Linked DNA regions of Homo sapiens: regions 2, 3 and 4 are each linked to region 1. The links are contacts of gene promoters, found by promoter capture Hi-C in blood cells and fetal thymus (Javierre and others, 2016). All regions are on one chromosome and are shown on one strand. The core of a region is centred on a gene start or on the middle of the fragment in contact, and the rest is flanking DNA. Distances in the headings are between cores, read along the strand shown.

Region 1 (3,590 bases), core at 341-2,840:
TGTAATAAATTCAGGAGTTGAGCTGTATGGCAAGCCCATCTTAGAAGTCCTCAACACCAGGAGAGGATCTGTCCTAGTTAGGAGCAGAAAGCAGATCTCATAATATCCAAGTTGTCTGGAAACATGATATATGGTAGGGCAGTCTTTCCAGCTCCCATTTTGTTGGTGCCTTCACCTCGGGTTGTCAGGGCTGGGGTTAGGGAAATTGCCTCTTTCCGTCTCTATCTCTTTTAACTTCGCAGCGAGAGCTGGAAGCAGTGACTGTTCCCATCACCTAGTGTCCTTCTGTCAGGGGCCGCTTCGGTAGCTACAGAAGCCTAGCCGCTGGAAGCTTCCTTCCCCGACACTCCATACCTCCATGCCACACCTTTTAGGCAATAACCAAATGTCATTTTGTTCTTTCCCCTTCTCCTGGGCATTATACTGGGAAACTGTTTACGCGCATCGACCCCGCACACCTCCAAAAATCTCCACTTTCCGGGCTCCAAGCAGCTCTCCGCTACTCAGACAGCCCAGGCTAACACCTCGGATTTCCCCATGCAGTTTCCTCTGCAGCGTCTCAATCACAAGGCTGTACGGGCGGCACATGCCAACGGAACCACCACCCCTTCTGCTCCCTCGGGGACTCAAGCCTGCTCTCGGTCAAAGCACAGAAGCGGCTTTCAGCTCCGGGCAGGCGGCCGGGGCGTCGGGGGTACTGGAAGTGCCCAAACCCAGCGGTGCTGCCGCGCGGGGAAGCGGAGGTGCGGCCGCAGGACAAGCGCGCCTCCCAAGTCCCTGGCCACCTGCGATGCGTCCTCAACTCGCCTGCCCATCGCCACTACCAGAAACCTCAGACAGCCCATTGTGTGGGCAGGCAGCGCGCTCCCCCGGCCCCGCCGCCCTCGCCTACCTTCTGTCGGTCTCTCCGGAGCGCCCGCACAGCCGGCAGCCCGCCTCCAGCGCTCTGCAAAGCGAAGGAGGACGCTTTGTTAGGGCTGGAGAAACGGGACAATACTTCGCAGCCGGCGCAGCGGTTCCGGGCGGGCGTCCTTCAAAAGGACGCGAATGGGGACCCGCGTGAGCGTCATTTCCATATGTAAGGGGCCAGCTCTTACAAAAGCGCGGCTCTCGGGGGCCGCGGGCTGCAGCGCGCATCCTCCCCGCCCCCGCCGGCCCGCCCCCGCCCGCGCAGCCCGCGCCTCCGGGACCGGCCCCTCCTCCCGCCTCCGAAGCAGCCCCGTCCCCGCCTCGTCCTCCCGCCCGGCCGCTGCTTCCTCCCGGCCCGCAGGGATTGCGCCCCGCTGGCCCCGGACCCCAAATGGGAAGCCCCCGAGTGATCCGGTGCCCAGTTCGCTCCGGGCTCTCAGGGCCTCGCCGACGGCGCGGGGGCAGCGCGAGGCCTCCGTGCACCCCCAGGCCGTGGGTCCGGGTCCCCGGGGTTGCGCCACTTACTGCGTCCCGGGGCTCAGGCGCCCGGCGCCGCCGCGGGAACCATGGCCGCTGGCGCACTCCGGGCTTGGCGGCGGCAGCGGGACGGCCGCGCCCAGCGCGCTCGGCTCCCGGCTCGGCCGCGGCCACCCGGAGCTCTGGACGCCGGGGAGGAAGGGCCGGGCCCGCGCGGGGAGGAGGAGTCAGGGCGACGCCGGCCCCGGCGCGGCTCCTCCTCTGCGGCCCGCGCGGCTCAGGCAGCGGAGGGAGGAGCGGGCGGCGCCGCCTGAGCCCTCGCAGACGCGCCCTCCCGCTCCGAGCGCCCGCCTCCGAGATCTGAAGTTAGAAACGCCGGGGCTCCGGGTGCGGGTGTAGGAGGCTGGCGCCCCGAGGTCGCCACCGAGCTGGGGCTGGCGCTGCCACCCTCGCCCCTTGCCTGTCCGCCTCCCTTTCTTTCCCAACACGCCTACACTCACCCGCACCGCGGACACTCGGGCCGCAGCGTCTTCGCGCAGAGGAAGGGCCCCCGCCTTCAGCAAGCGGGACTTTAAGGGGGTGATTTCCCAGCCCTCGGGTGTCGATTGGCCATCAACATTGGAAAGGGTGTTCAGGAGGCAGAAGGGCTGTAGAAGTGACTCGGAACCCTGTAGAGCGAGCGCGACCCTCCTGCCGGGTCTACACTGGCTTCCGCACCTGCCCACCACGTCCTCACAGGCTCCCGCCCCTGTGCAGCCTTCTCCGGGTGAAGCTAACCCTCGGTCGCAAGCCACACAGGACGAAAACTCCTTGGAGTTGGTGGTTCCCAGCCCAACAGTTGCTCGATATTAATCGCCTCCTACCTACTACCCCAGAGTCTGCGTTCTCACTCCCCCATCCCTACACTTCTGATCTCATTGCAGTCAAATAGGATCCCAAGTCCAGGCCATGGTTCTTTTTGAGCTGCAGGGTTAAATGTGTTGCCCTTGAAGGATCCGCCTGATGGATTACAACCCACAAGTCTGGTTATTTTAGCAGGAAACTGGTGATTCCTTTTCTACCGAGAAAGCAAGCAACAGACAAGAGGAAACCAGCATTCCTTGAGAATCCAGTGCGCTAGAAACTCGACAGAAATTATCTTATCTAATTCTCACATCACTCTTAGGAGGCAGACATTATTTTGCAGATGAGGAAAATGGATCTCCCAGAAGTCAAAGAGCTTCCTCAGGATCACACAGCAGGAACTCCACAGAACTGAGATTCAAAAGCAGATCACATATGTGGCAAAATTGCATAGAACTGAATATACACTCACAAATGAGAGCACGTGAAACTCATGAAATTTGAATAAGACATTTGGACTACACTAATGTCCATTTACTGATTGTAATATTGTTCTACAGTTATGCAAAATGTTACCATTGAGAAAAATTAAGTGAAGCGTCTATAGGGAATCTCTCTATTATTCCTTACAACTTCAAGCGAATTTACAGTTACCTCAAAAAATTTTTTTAAAAATTTTAAACATCTCAGTCTTATTCAAAAGCCCAGGCTCTCTTCTTTCAACACGGTATATAAGCGTGCCTGCAGAATAAGAGAGATTTATGCTCCTCTCTCCTTTTTAAACAGTCTTGAATAAGTACACATACACACACAAACACACACTCATACACTGTATGCATGGTTGTTCAGTCATCCAGTAATATGATACAACACACACACACACACACGCAGTTCATTAAGAGGATAGCTAACCTGTTACCAGAATACTTACATAGAGGTCATCTTGTAAGACAGACAATAATGCTCACTGGGCACTAAAACAGCCAACAGTCTTGGAAGGTAAGAATGAAGAGGTGTCTTTCTTGTTTCACCTAATCTCTGCCATGGAAGCCTCATCCTACTGGTTACCTCTCCAAGCATCGCTTTTTAACCTGCAAGAATCCTTAAGGATGATATTGATCATTAGTTTAAAACAGTGATTCCTGGGGGTCAGGGGATATTGGAAGTGGCATTCACTCCCTGTGCAGGAAGATCAGAATTGCTGGGGGTTGTGTAATTTGAAAAACACAAGATGCGCTTTCTTGAGAGGAGTAAGTGGGGTGGAGTTAGCCCTGGGACTGGGAACTGGGATCACCTCCAGCCTTGCTACAAAGGAGGGAAAGCATGGAGCATGGTTACCGCGTGGTGTGGGTTGGCAAGAG
Region 2 (3,590 bases), core at 373-2,872, 1.2 Mb before region 1:
TTTCAAAACAAAAAAAAAAATTTACATCATTATAGAACAGTACTATCCAATACAAAATAATTGATCAGAAAGCTGGTGATTTTTATCTCAAAGAGCCAATAATAAATTCGTTTTCACCTTAAAAAAAAAAACCCAAACTACTATTTAAAAGATTTTCAGAAGCCAAAAGTTTCACAGTCAAAAGTTTCATATAAACACTAGCTTGACTAAGATGATCAAGAGATAGAAGCACTAAATGGCAGACCATTGTTTGCTGAATCTTAACAATGTCTTTCCGGCCCCAAACTTTAAGTTCATTCCAGTGTATGACGCTTTCAAACATTTTGGGTTGGCCGGGCGCGGTGGCTCACGCCTGTAATCTCAGCACTTTGGGAGGCCGAAGCAGGCGGATCACGAGGTCAGCAGTTCGAGACCAGCCTGACCAACATGGTAAAACCCCGTCTCTACTAAAAATAAAAAAATTAGCCGGACATGGTGGCAGGCGCCTGTAATCCCAGCTATTCAGGAGGCTGAGGCAGGAGAATCGCTTGAACCGGGGAGGCGGAGGTTGCACTGAGCGGAGATCACGCCATCGCACTCCAGGTTGGGTGAGTGCGACTCCGACTCAAAAAAAAAAAAAAAAAAACTTGGGGTCAGCGGTTAATACATATATTTGGTTAGAAAATATCTAGGTACAGCCGCGCGTGGTGGCAAGAGCCTTTAGTCCCAGCTACTCGGGACGCCAAGGCAAGAGGATCGCCTGAGACCAGGAGGAGTTCGAGGCTGCAGTGAGCCGTAACAACGCCACTGCACTTCAACCTGGGCGACAGAGGGAGACCCTATCTCTAAAAAAAAAAAAAAGAGAATAGGTACTTACAAGATTGATAAATGAAACAAATGTAAAACAATTTTAGTGGCTTCTCTAAAGTGAATTTCACCAAACACAATACACGGCACCTAAAACTGGCTAAGCTATCTAGGTAAAAAAGGGAGTAGGAAAGACTAAGTCCTTCACCTTCTCCATTCTATTAATTTGATTGCCCAAACCATCAACACTGTCACCAGCTACCAACTAAAAAAAGAGGAAAAGCTCTTGGTCGAATGCTCAGAATTACCACTCCAGGGAAGATCTGTCCGTTTGTCTTTCGCGGAAAAAATAACCCCCACAACCTTCTCTGCCCAAACAACATGGAGTACGCCTGCAGACGCCTACCTTAATGAAACCGATATCCTTCGCGTACTGACGGAAACACTGGCGGCACATATTGAGGCCATATTTCCGGATCAGACCGTGCCGGTTTGAACAGACACGACTGTAAGAAAAGAGACAGCGGTTTTGCAGGTCATAGAAATTACAAGACTCCGCACTCAGACGGCTACTACCCGCATCCCGGGACTCCCAAGCCACAGTACAGGCCTGTAATGGCGGCACCAGCGACTCCCAGTCGGCGTGCTCCCTCGTGCCGCCCGTGGCCTCCTCTACTTGAGATTTTAAGCAGCCTAGCGCTCCACGGCAACGCTTCCCCAAAATCACAAACTATTTCTCACCAAGAGCGAGAACCCTGGCCGAATTTTCGCGGGTGGCTCCAGTACAGCTGCTGGTGACCCATCTTGCTCTCAGCAGTGCAACGAGGTAAAAGGAAGAAGCTGGCCCACGCATGCGCTCTTCAAATTTTTGAGACAGTTTACCCAGAATGCAGTGCTCAAAGGAAACGCGTGCGCAGTGTGGTCAGGTTGTTTCGCTGGGTGAGTAAAATGAAATCTTAGAGGCGTTGTGGGCTGGCCCAGTTGATGACGTCACCATACCACAGCTTCTAGTGCTATTCTGCGCCGGTATCCGACCGCCGGGCGCGGTGGCGCGTGCCTGTAGTCCCAGCTACTCGGGAGGCTGAGGCTGGAGGATCGCTTGAGTCCAGGAGTTCTGGGCTGTAGTGCGCTATGCCGATCGGGTGTCCGCACTAAGTTCGGCATCAATATGGTGACCTCCCGGGAGCGGGGGACCACCAGGTTGCCTAAGGAGGGGTGAACCGGCCCAGGTCGGAAACGGAGCAGGTCAAAACTCCCGTGCTGATCAGTAGTGGGATCGCGCCTGTGAATAGCCACTGCACTCCAGCCTGGGCAACATAGCGAGACCCCGTCTCTTTTGAACAATAAATACGTTAATTTTGGACTCTCAAGAGATGAATATTCTCATAGTCTTTTTTATTGATTAAACCTTTTACTTTCTTTTAATTAAAACGTTACACTTGGGAAAGGAGTTTTTCCTCGACTCACCAGTGACACCTACTGGAATAAATTTACAAAACAACTTAAAATCAGCTGTAATGATCACGAGTCAACGGTAGGGTTTGCTTTTATTTTGTTAAAGAGAGTACGTTTTCAAATTTATTTTTTTGACACACTCCTCCAAGAAATACACCTACACCATTCCAAAAAAAAATGAGATTCTTTGGCATTTAGTGTATTTGATTCTTAAATGTAATTGGCTGAATGTAAAGTAATAAACAAGTAATGTGCAGTGTATGTTGCTTTGACCAGATAATTTGGTGACAAAACAAGTAATGAAAAGCAAATGCAAAAATGCAAAAAACCAATGTCAATAAACGAATTTCTGCTGAAAGATACCTACATTCCATATGGTCATTTATAATGCCTCCAGATAAAACTGCTCTGAAATCAAAGCTTTAACTAGATTTATAAAATGTAGCACAGGGTGCAACAATTCCAGAAACTTTTACATATAAACTTTTATAAATTGAAATACAACACTTCTTTAAGGTATGTTATGTCAGGGTTCTAGTGGGGTCCCCCTACCCAATCATTAAGTTAGGCATTGTATTATATGATTAAGGAAGGAGGGGAGTCAGAGATTTGTAAACTAGATATAACTTGCTCCTTGCCCTCAAAATTTTCTAATCTGTGGGAAACAGGATTATCTCCAAGACTTCAACATACAACGTTTGTGCACCAACAACATATGTACAGCTAAGGAAAATATTCTGTATTAAATCATGGGTGTGCTCATGAAGTACGAAAGGAGCCAAGAAGAGAAATTAATTCCAGTTCGAGGTACATTTGAGAGACCTTTGAGGTAGACCTTGAAGAATGGGATTTCTACAGGCAGCACTTGACAGAAGGGAATGCCTGGTGAAAGGAAGCGCTTGAGCCAAGGTAAGGTGAACAACTTTGTGTAACTAGAATAGAAGATGGACAAAAGGCCTAGTGATAGGAATGAAAAGGTATTTTATTTTAAAGCCTCATTGGGCAAGATCCAATGTCAAGCTTTTACAACTTTCCTATAATTTATATCAGTCACTAATGTGTGGTTTCCAAAAGCCATTTGCCTCTCAAAAGCTAATCTAACATTTGTCCACACTTTCTTAGGCCTCTTCTAGTTGGTCTCCACAATATTTAAAACATTACAGTGGTTCTGAGATCAATTCCATTAATATTTTTAGTACTCTGATATATAAGCCTTTGGGCCTAAAGAAGTGAATTCATTTAGGAGAGAAAAAAAGACAAATGAGAAGCAATTAGTTGCACTTCAACAATCTTAATCTGAATACTTAAGTAATTCTTAATACTTATTCTAGTCTATACATTATTCTCTT
Region 3 (3,590 bases), core at 598-3,097, 1.1 Mb before region 1:
CACATGGCAAGGGACTGAGGATAGCCTCCAGCCAACAGCCTGCCAGGCAATCAGGAACTGAATCCTGCCAACAACTGAATGAGCTTGAAGCGAATGCTGTCTGGACAACATTTGAGATGATCCATCTTGACTGCAACCTTGTGAAAAGACCCTGAAGTTGAGGACCCAACTAAGCCACACCTGAATTCCTAACCCACAGAAAATTTGAGATAATGTGTACTGTTTTAGCCTTTAAATTGTGGGGTAATTTGTCACGCAGCAATAGAATACATTATCTGCCCCCTACAAAGCTCTTGCTCTCTATTGCACCCCCTTACCCCAGCACGGTGCTTTGCAGCTAACAGATTTAAGTATACTTATGACTGAAATAATTAATGAACAAAAGCTTAATATTAGGTCAAATTCTAAGCGAAAAGAAAGTTAATTCATCAGTTCCTCATGCTTTCAAAATGTCAAGGACCAATTGAACAAAATTCATTATTTTCTCCCAAGGCATCTCCCAAAGCACAGTTAAAAGTCCCATAAAACTCACAAAACCAACCAAAAATCTACACACACAAAAGCAATAAAAACTGATACAGAGAGGTATATCCAATCCAGCAGGTATTTCAATATGTATAAAATATTGTGTTCTAGGTCAGGCGCAGTGGTTCACGCCTGTAATTCCAGCATTCTGGGAGGCCACGGCGCGAGGACTACTTGAGCCCAGGAGTTCAAGACCAGCCTGGGCAACATAGCCAGACCCCGTCTCTAAAAAACATACAACAACAAAAAATCAGCCAGGTATGGTGGCCCATGCCTGCAGTCCCAGCTACTTCAGCCCAGGAGGTTGAGGCTGCAGTAAGTCAAGTTCGCATCACTGCCCTCCAGCTTGGGCGAGAGTGAGACCATGACTCAAAAAAAAAAAAATACATATATATATATACACACACACCACACACACACACACACACACACACACACACACACACGTACATATAGAACTCTAAAACACGGAGCAGATTTAATGAGAGAAATCTTGGGAAGGTTCATATGTTCTATAGGTCCTCAAAAACACGGATATGCCCAGGAAACCTGACTTTCACATAAATTGGCAACTGCAGACGTGCAAGTGGGCTTTCTCGGGTCTCTCATCTTATGTCTCAGCAACCTTCCCGGGAGCCTGAGAGCTGTCCAGGTCACAATGTTGATAACCGGCTGCCATAGATAGGTTGCAGCTTCTCGGGCTCAGTTTGACATGTGCAGAAGAGCCTCGGCCCGCCTAGAAGAAACATTAAACTCCTCGCATGGGTCGGGGAAACCAAAGAAGGCACGGCAGCCTCAAGATCCACCTCGCTTCTTAGAACTTTTTTTTAATGGAGTCTCTCTCTGTCGCCAGGATGGAGTAGAGTGGCACGATATCGGCTCACCGCAACCTCCTCCTCCCGGGTTCAAGCGATTCTCCTGCCTCAGCCTCCCAACTAACTGGGACTACAAGCGCGCGCCACCACGCCCAGCTAATTTTTGTATTTTTAGTAGAGACGGGGCTTCACCATGTTGGCCAGGATGGTCTCGATCTCCTGACCTCGTGATCCGCCCGCCTCGACCTCCCAAAGTGCTGGGATTACAAGCGTGAGCCACCGCGCCCGACCGCTTCTTAGAACTCTGAAATTTAAGGTCAAGCCCCCTCTCGGCGCGCGGGGAGCCGCCGCGGTGCGTCCCGCTGCCGCACCAGGCAGACGGGCCCCAGCTCTTCCCTCTCGCCCTTCAAGCTGCCCGAGCCCACTCACCCACGGAGCAGCAAGCCCCGCAACTTGAAGGCGGAGAGCGCCCGGCTCCGCAGCCGCTCCGGCGCCATATTTGCGATTTGGCGCCACCGCCGCAGCTCCGCCCCTTCCCGGGCGCGCCCCTCCCAGCTCCGGCCTCGGCCCTGGCCCGCGTGGCGCTAAACCCTGTTAAGATCCCTGCTTGGTCTCCGCTGCCTGCGCCGCAGCAACTCAGACCTTACAGTTCGCAACCCCGGACCGAGTAGGCTGAAAGTGGAGACCACCTCGCGCTCCTTTGCTGCCGGGAAACTGAGGGCCAGAGCGTCTTCCCTGGTGTCGGGCTGCGTTGAGCCAGCCACAGCGCTCTCACCGCTGCCCTAGACATTGCAGGACTGCGGCCGAGCTTCCCGGACACAGGATCCCCCTTCTTTCGAGGCCATGAGAGCTGTTGGGTTCCCTACTTCGCACAAGCTCTGGAAATACTGTGCCTCGACATTTACCGGAAGCTGTTATAAATCTCCATCGCTCCCACCTACCCCGATTTTTATTTAACTTGAGGGCTTCGTATGCGCCATGCACTGTCATAAGCACTTTAAATGTGTGAATTCATGTGTTGCTCATGACAGCCCAGTGAGCTGTCTACTGTCTTTTCCACAACAGCCTCATTTTACAGATGAGAAAACTGAGACACAAAAATGGTAAAGGACTTGCTCAAGATGAAACGACGAGTTAAATGGTGTAGTCAGGATTTGAACTCAGTTATTCTGATTTCAGGTGGACTGTCAATCTGCCACACTTCAAAACGCTTGCTCCAATGAGTTGACTAACCCGTGGAGTGCTTATAAGTAAACACGCGGCTTATAAAACAGGAGGATGATTTCACAGTACCAATATAAAGTGACCTCCAACGTATACGGGTTTTTTTCTTTTTTAAAAAAAAGCGAAGTTTAATGAAGGAAGGGAAACAAAAGTATATGTATTTGTTTTTGCATTTTAAAAACCTCTGGGCCCGGGCGCGGTGGCTCACATCTGTAATCCCAGAACTTTGGGAGGCCGATGCTGGCAGATCACTTGAGGCCAAGAGTTCGAGAACAGCCGGGCCAACATGGTGAAACCCCGTCTCTACCAAAAAAAAAAAAAAAAAAAAAAAATTAGCCAGGCGTGGTGGCGCGCGCCTGTAATCCCAGCTCCTGGGGAGGTTGAGGCAGGAGAATCTCTTGAGCCTCGGAGGCGGAGGGTGCAGTGAGCCGAGATCGTGCCACCACTCCAGCCTGGGCAACAAAGCAAGGCTCTGTCTCAAAAACAAAAAAAGCCGGGCGCAGTGGTTCACGCCTGTAATCCCAGCACTTTGGGAGGCCGAGGTGGGCGGATCATCTGAGGTCAGGAGTTCGAGACCAGCCTGACCAACATGGAGAAACCCCGTCTCTACAAAAATACAAAAAAATTAGCCAGGCATGGTGGCGCATGCCTGTAATCCCAGCTACTCGGGAGGCTGAGGCAGGAGAATTGTCTGAACCCGGGAGACAGAGGTTGCGGTGAGCCGAGATGGGGCCATTACACTCCAGCCTAGGCAACAAGAGTGAGACTCTGTCTCAAAACAACAGCAACAACAACAACAAAACAACTCTGGAAGGTTAAATCAGAGACCACAAAAATGGTTAACTACAAAGGGGTGAGGGGATAGGGATGAAAGTGAAAACTTTCTTTACAGTGAGACTTTTAATCCATGTGCATGTTTTACATATTCAAAAAATAGAAAATAAAAAGGTGAGCTTAAAATTGAATGCATACTAAAACTAATACACCTAATTGTATATTAAATTGGTAACATAACATCACAAGTGA
Region 4 (3,590 bases), core at 409-2,908, 1.1 Mb before region 1:
GCCAGGAATTGAAGCTGGAAAGGCAAGCTGGGTCTGGACCATGCTGGGTCTTCTTGCACAGCACTGTGATATGAATTTTTTTTTTTTTTTTTTTTTTTTTTTGAGACGGAGTTTCGTTCTTGTTGCCCAGGCTGGAGTGCAATGGTGCCCTTTTGGCTCACTGTAACCTCCGCCTCCCGGCTTCAAGAGTTTCTCCTGCCTGAGCCTCCCAAGTAGCTGGGATTACAGGCGCCGGCCACCAAGCCTGTGTAATTTTTTTGTATTTTCAGTAGAGACAGAGTTTCGCCATTTTGGCCAGGCTGGTCTCGAACTCCTGGCCTCAGGTGATCCGCCTGCCTCGGCCTTCCAAAGTGTTGGGATTACAGGCGTGAGCCACCGCGCCCAGCCGAGATATTAATTTTGGATTCTACTAAGGACGACGGGAGCCAGCTCAAGGTTTTTAAGTGACTCGATCAGATTCACGAGGTTGGTTCACAAGGAACTTCGATAACCCCAAAGTCTAGTGAGCATAATTCGACTGGGAGAAGACACTGCTGCAAGGAATTCTGTGAACCAGACAGATTTGAGGGCACCAACCAGGGTGGATGGCAGATAAGGTCTTAACAGCCTCAAGGTGATTTGCTTCCTTGTTGAAGGCTTTAATTAATCCTCTTAAGTAACTTTCAAGTTCTTGAGTTCAAGTAAACACACTGGCACACTAGGGGAGGAGTGGCAGGCTATAAGCATTTTAATAATTAAAAAAAAAAAGCCTTTTATTGTTCAAAGTGTTCCTTTTCTATGGAGTGCTCCCAACCAGAAGATGAGGGAAATGGAGATAATGAAGCACGTCCCTCCTACCAAACACGATAAATTCTACAGGCACTGTAAGATCAAGAATTTAAGATTATTTTTGTCCCACCCTATTTTACAGGTGAGGTATCAAGCACAGTAACTCGTAATTTTCTTTTGGCCCAATTGAAAGGTATCATATAAGAGAAAGCTGTGTGTGCGTGAAAAGGATCCGCCTTTCTTTCTGAAGAAAAGGGTGGTTACGGCTTCGGAAACGCTTTTCAAGCCAACTCTGCAGCCCGGCTGGCGGCGGCAGCGGCGGCGGCGGCAACGTCAGATTCCCGCAGAGGCGGCGCCCGGCAGGGGCGGCAGGAGCTCAGGAGAGGCCCCCGGGGATCGGGCTGGGCCCCACGTGAGAGCTAAGCGACTGCCCTCGCGCCCGCAGAACAGCAGGGCCTGCATCGACTCTAAGGCGAGACCAGAAACTTGCTAGTGGAGCAATTCTGGTGCCCCTGCCCGGGCTGTGAACCCTCTGAGATCATCCCTCAATCAAACGAATAGAAATCCTCGGGAAGAAAAAAAAAATTGCGGCAATCCGGCTAAAATTCAGCAGCTTTCAGGGACCGATTCAGGACATTATCCCTGTGGTTCCCTCAGTGAAAGGAGACTCGAAGCGCGACTAGAAGTCGCCGGGCCCCATAGATCTGCGGTGCCCAGGCCGTAGGCGGAGGCGCGGGCAGAGGCGGCGGCGGCGGCGGCGGCGGCTGGAGGACCCGGCGCTGGGGGCGCTGAGCGGCAGCCTCGCTTCCGGAGCTCGGCGGGCGGCGTCAGCGGAACGGGCGGCTTCCGGCCGCGGCGTAAACAAGGCCGTGGACTGCAGGAGGCGGGGCAGACGGGCTGCAATAGGGAGCCGGCCCGACGCGGACCGCTTCCCTGCAGTGCCCCGAGTCCCGGGCCCGCGCCGCCGCCGCCCGGCTCCGCTCGCGGCCCCTCTGTCTGCAGGCGTGCCCCGGCGGCGGCGGAGAGCCGTCCTCGGCCGAGGAGGCTGGGAAACGCGAGCGCAGGCGGCAGAGAGGCCTCAACGCCGTCCCTTTCGCCACCGCCTTTTCCTTGCCTCGCGCCGCTGTGCATTTCTCTCCTTTTCCTTTGTTTTTTTGGCCCCTCGCGGGTGTGGGCATTGTTGGTTAGCAAAAGTGCAGCCTCAAGATGGCTGATGGCAACGAGGATCTGCGGGCTGACGACTTGCCTGGGCCAGCCTTCGAGAGCTATGAGTCCATGGAGCTTGCCTGCCCCGCTGAGCGCAGCGGCCACGTAGCCGTCAGCGACGGGCGCCACATGTTCGTCTGGGGCGGCTACAAGGTCAGTGAGTGGCCGGGCCGCGACGGACGTCGCTCGGCTGTGACTCGGGTCTGCGTTCGCGGCCAGGCGGGGAGGCCAGAGCGGGCCGCCGAGGGCGCTCCCCGCCTGCGTCGCGCGCCCCACCTCAGACTCTGCCCGTTGGTTGTTTTTTTTTTGCGCGCGGGAATCTTCCTTCTCTCGAGTACCCCAACCCGTCTCGAACCTCCAGGGCTGCTGTCATGTCACCCTGGTGCTCACAAAGCCAACTCACTCCCACCCCCGTTGTTGCCATTGGAGCGTTATTCCGGGGAAGGCCCTGTTAATGTTGCTTGGGCGGTGCATTCGGAAGGGTTGGGGTGTGAAAGGTGACGGTGTGTGATATCACTCAGACGCGTTATGAGGACGGCCTACGAGGACTTCACCCTCTGGAGCTGGGAACCGCTGCCCACTTACAGGGAGGCCGAGGTGTAGGAAAACTGGAATTCCAAAAGGTTACAGGAACCACCTTATTCAGCCTTCCCGCCTGTGCAAATGGCCATCAGGACTGTTTTCCTTCTGGCTTCAGCTGGGTTGAAGTTTTTCAGCAGACACCCCTATTAAGATAATGGAAAAGCTCCACCAGTAACCAAAAAATCCCCAGCATCAAATGAACTACAGAGTGCAGCTCTTTGACTCTCCGATCCCCTGGTTATAAACAACGTGATTAGTTAGCAGTTTAAAGCCAGTTGCCATTCTTTACCCTGCTAACCTCGGAAATCTAGAATTTTATTTGCTAGGATGGCTCTGAGCCAGTCCTACCACAAAATTCCTCTTTGGTCTTGAAAATGTTCTCCGCCCTCCCCACGCCCGTGCCTTGGATGACTTGCTTTGTGATTGTTTTTAGCTTATGGTACAGCTGACTTGATCATAGTTGACCATTTTTGAGATAGCTTTCAAAGATGGCTGTCCTGATACTTTATTTTGGTTTAACTGCAAAAGTAATTTTTTGCCAATCCTAATGAATCTGCAGTGTTTTCCCCAGTTTCCAATGAATGTGGTTAGAAAATAGAAAGGGGGCCGGGCGCGGTGGCTCACGCCTGTAATCCTAGCACTTTGGGAGGCCAAGGTAGGTGGATCAGCTGAAGTCAGGAGCTCGAGACCAGCCTGGCCAACATAGTGAAACTCCGTCTCTACTAAAAATACAAAAAAAAAAATTAGCCTGGCGTGGTGACGGGCGCCCTAATCCCGTCTACTTGAGAGGCTAAGGCAGGAGAATCACTTGAACCAGGGAGGCGGAGTTTGCAGTGAGCTGAGACGGCGCCATTGCACTCCAGCCTGGGCAACAAGAAGGAAACTGTCTCAAAAATACTTTAGAAAGGGGTAGAGAATTGCAAGAAGGGGGGCGGGGGGGCAAGCATGTAGTCACCCTTATAAAAATGTAAATTAATTCCCCTGGAGAAACCTGTCAATGACACTTCTAAGCTACCTAATTCATAATTGTATTT

What was found. The method cuts DNA at HindIII sites, captures the fragments that hold promoters and counts their contacts. A CHiCAGO score of 5 or more calls a contact.
Region 2: the fragment with the promoter of RPS29 here is called in contact with the fragment with the promoter of NIN in region 1 in 9 of 17 cell types (activated CD4 T cells, non-activated CD4 T cells, naive B cells and 6 more); the score reaches 9.9 in activated CD4 T cells.
Region 3: the fragment with the promoter of POLE2 here is called in contact with the fragment with the promoter of NIN in region 1 in 2 of 17 cell types (non-activated CD4 T cells and naive CD4 T cells); the score reaches 5.6 in non-activated CD4 T cells.
Region 4: a contact is called between the fragment with the promoter of KLHDC2 here and the fragment with the promoter of NIN in region 1, in 7 of 17 cell types (monocytes, total CD4 T cells, naive CD8 T cells and 4 more). The highest score is 10.5, in monocytes.

The regions. Positions count from the first base shown.
Region 1 is chr14:50,829,572-50,833,161 of GRCh38, forward strand. It overlaps NIN (ninein), which reads right to left and starts at 1,591. Exons shown (of 31, transcript NM_020921.4): 1 at 1,435-1,591; 2 at 893-946. RefSeq lists an enhancer at 273-322 and silencers at 893-1,012, 1,033-1,082, 1,153-1,432, 1,483-1,932. The HindIII fragment of the contact is 8,436 bases long and covers 330-3,590 here.
Region 2 is chr14:49,584,758-49,588,347 of GRCh38, forward strand. RPS29 (ribosomal protein S29) reads right to left here and starts at 1,623. Exons shown (of 3, transcript NM_001032.5): 1 at 1,528-1,623; 2 at 1,193-1,292. The coding sequence starts at 1,589. It also overlaps RN7SL1. RefSeq lists enhancers at 654-703, 1,302-1,801, 1,674-2,183. The HindIII fragment of the contact is 6,928 bases long and covers 1-2,659 here.
Region 3 is chr14:49,686,367-49,689,956 of GRCh38, forward strand. It overlaps POLE2 (DNA polymerase epsilon 2, accessory subunit), which reads right to left and starts at 1,848. Exons shown (of 19, transcript NM_002692.4): 1 at 1,770-1,848. The coding sequence starts at 1,837. RefSeq lists enhancers at 1,085-1,846, 1,847-2,606 and a silencer at 1,911-1,960. The HindIII fragment of the contact is 3,892 bases long and covers 384-3,590 here.
Region 4 is chr14:49,766,495-49,770,084 of GRCh38, forward strand. KLHDC2 (kelch domain containing 2) reads left to right here and starts at 1,659. Exons shown (of 13, transcript NM_014315.3): 1 at 1,659-2,127. The coding sequence starts at 1,975. RefSeq lists silencers at 1,059-1,118, 1,459-1,538, 1,709-1,888. The HindIII fragment of the contact is 13,494 bases long and covers 1-3,590 here.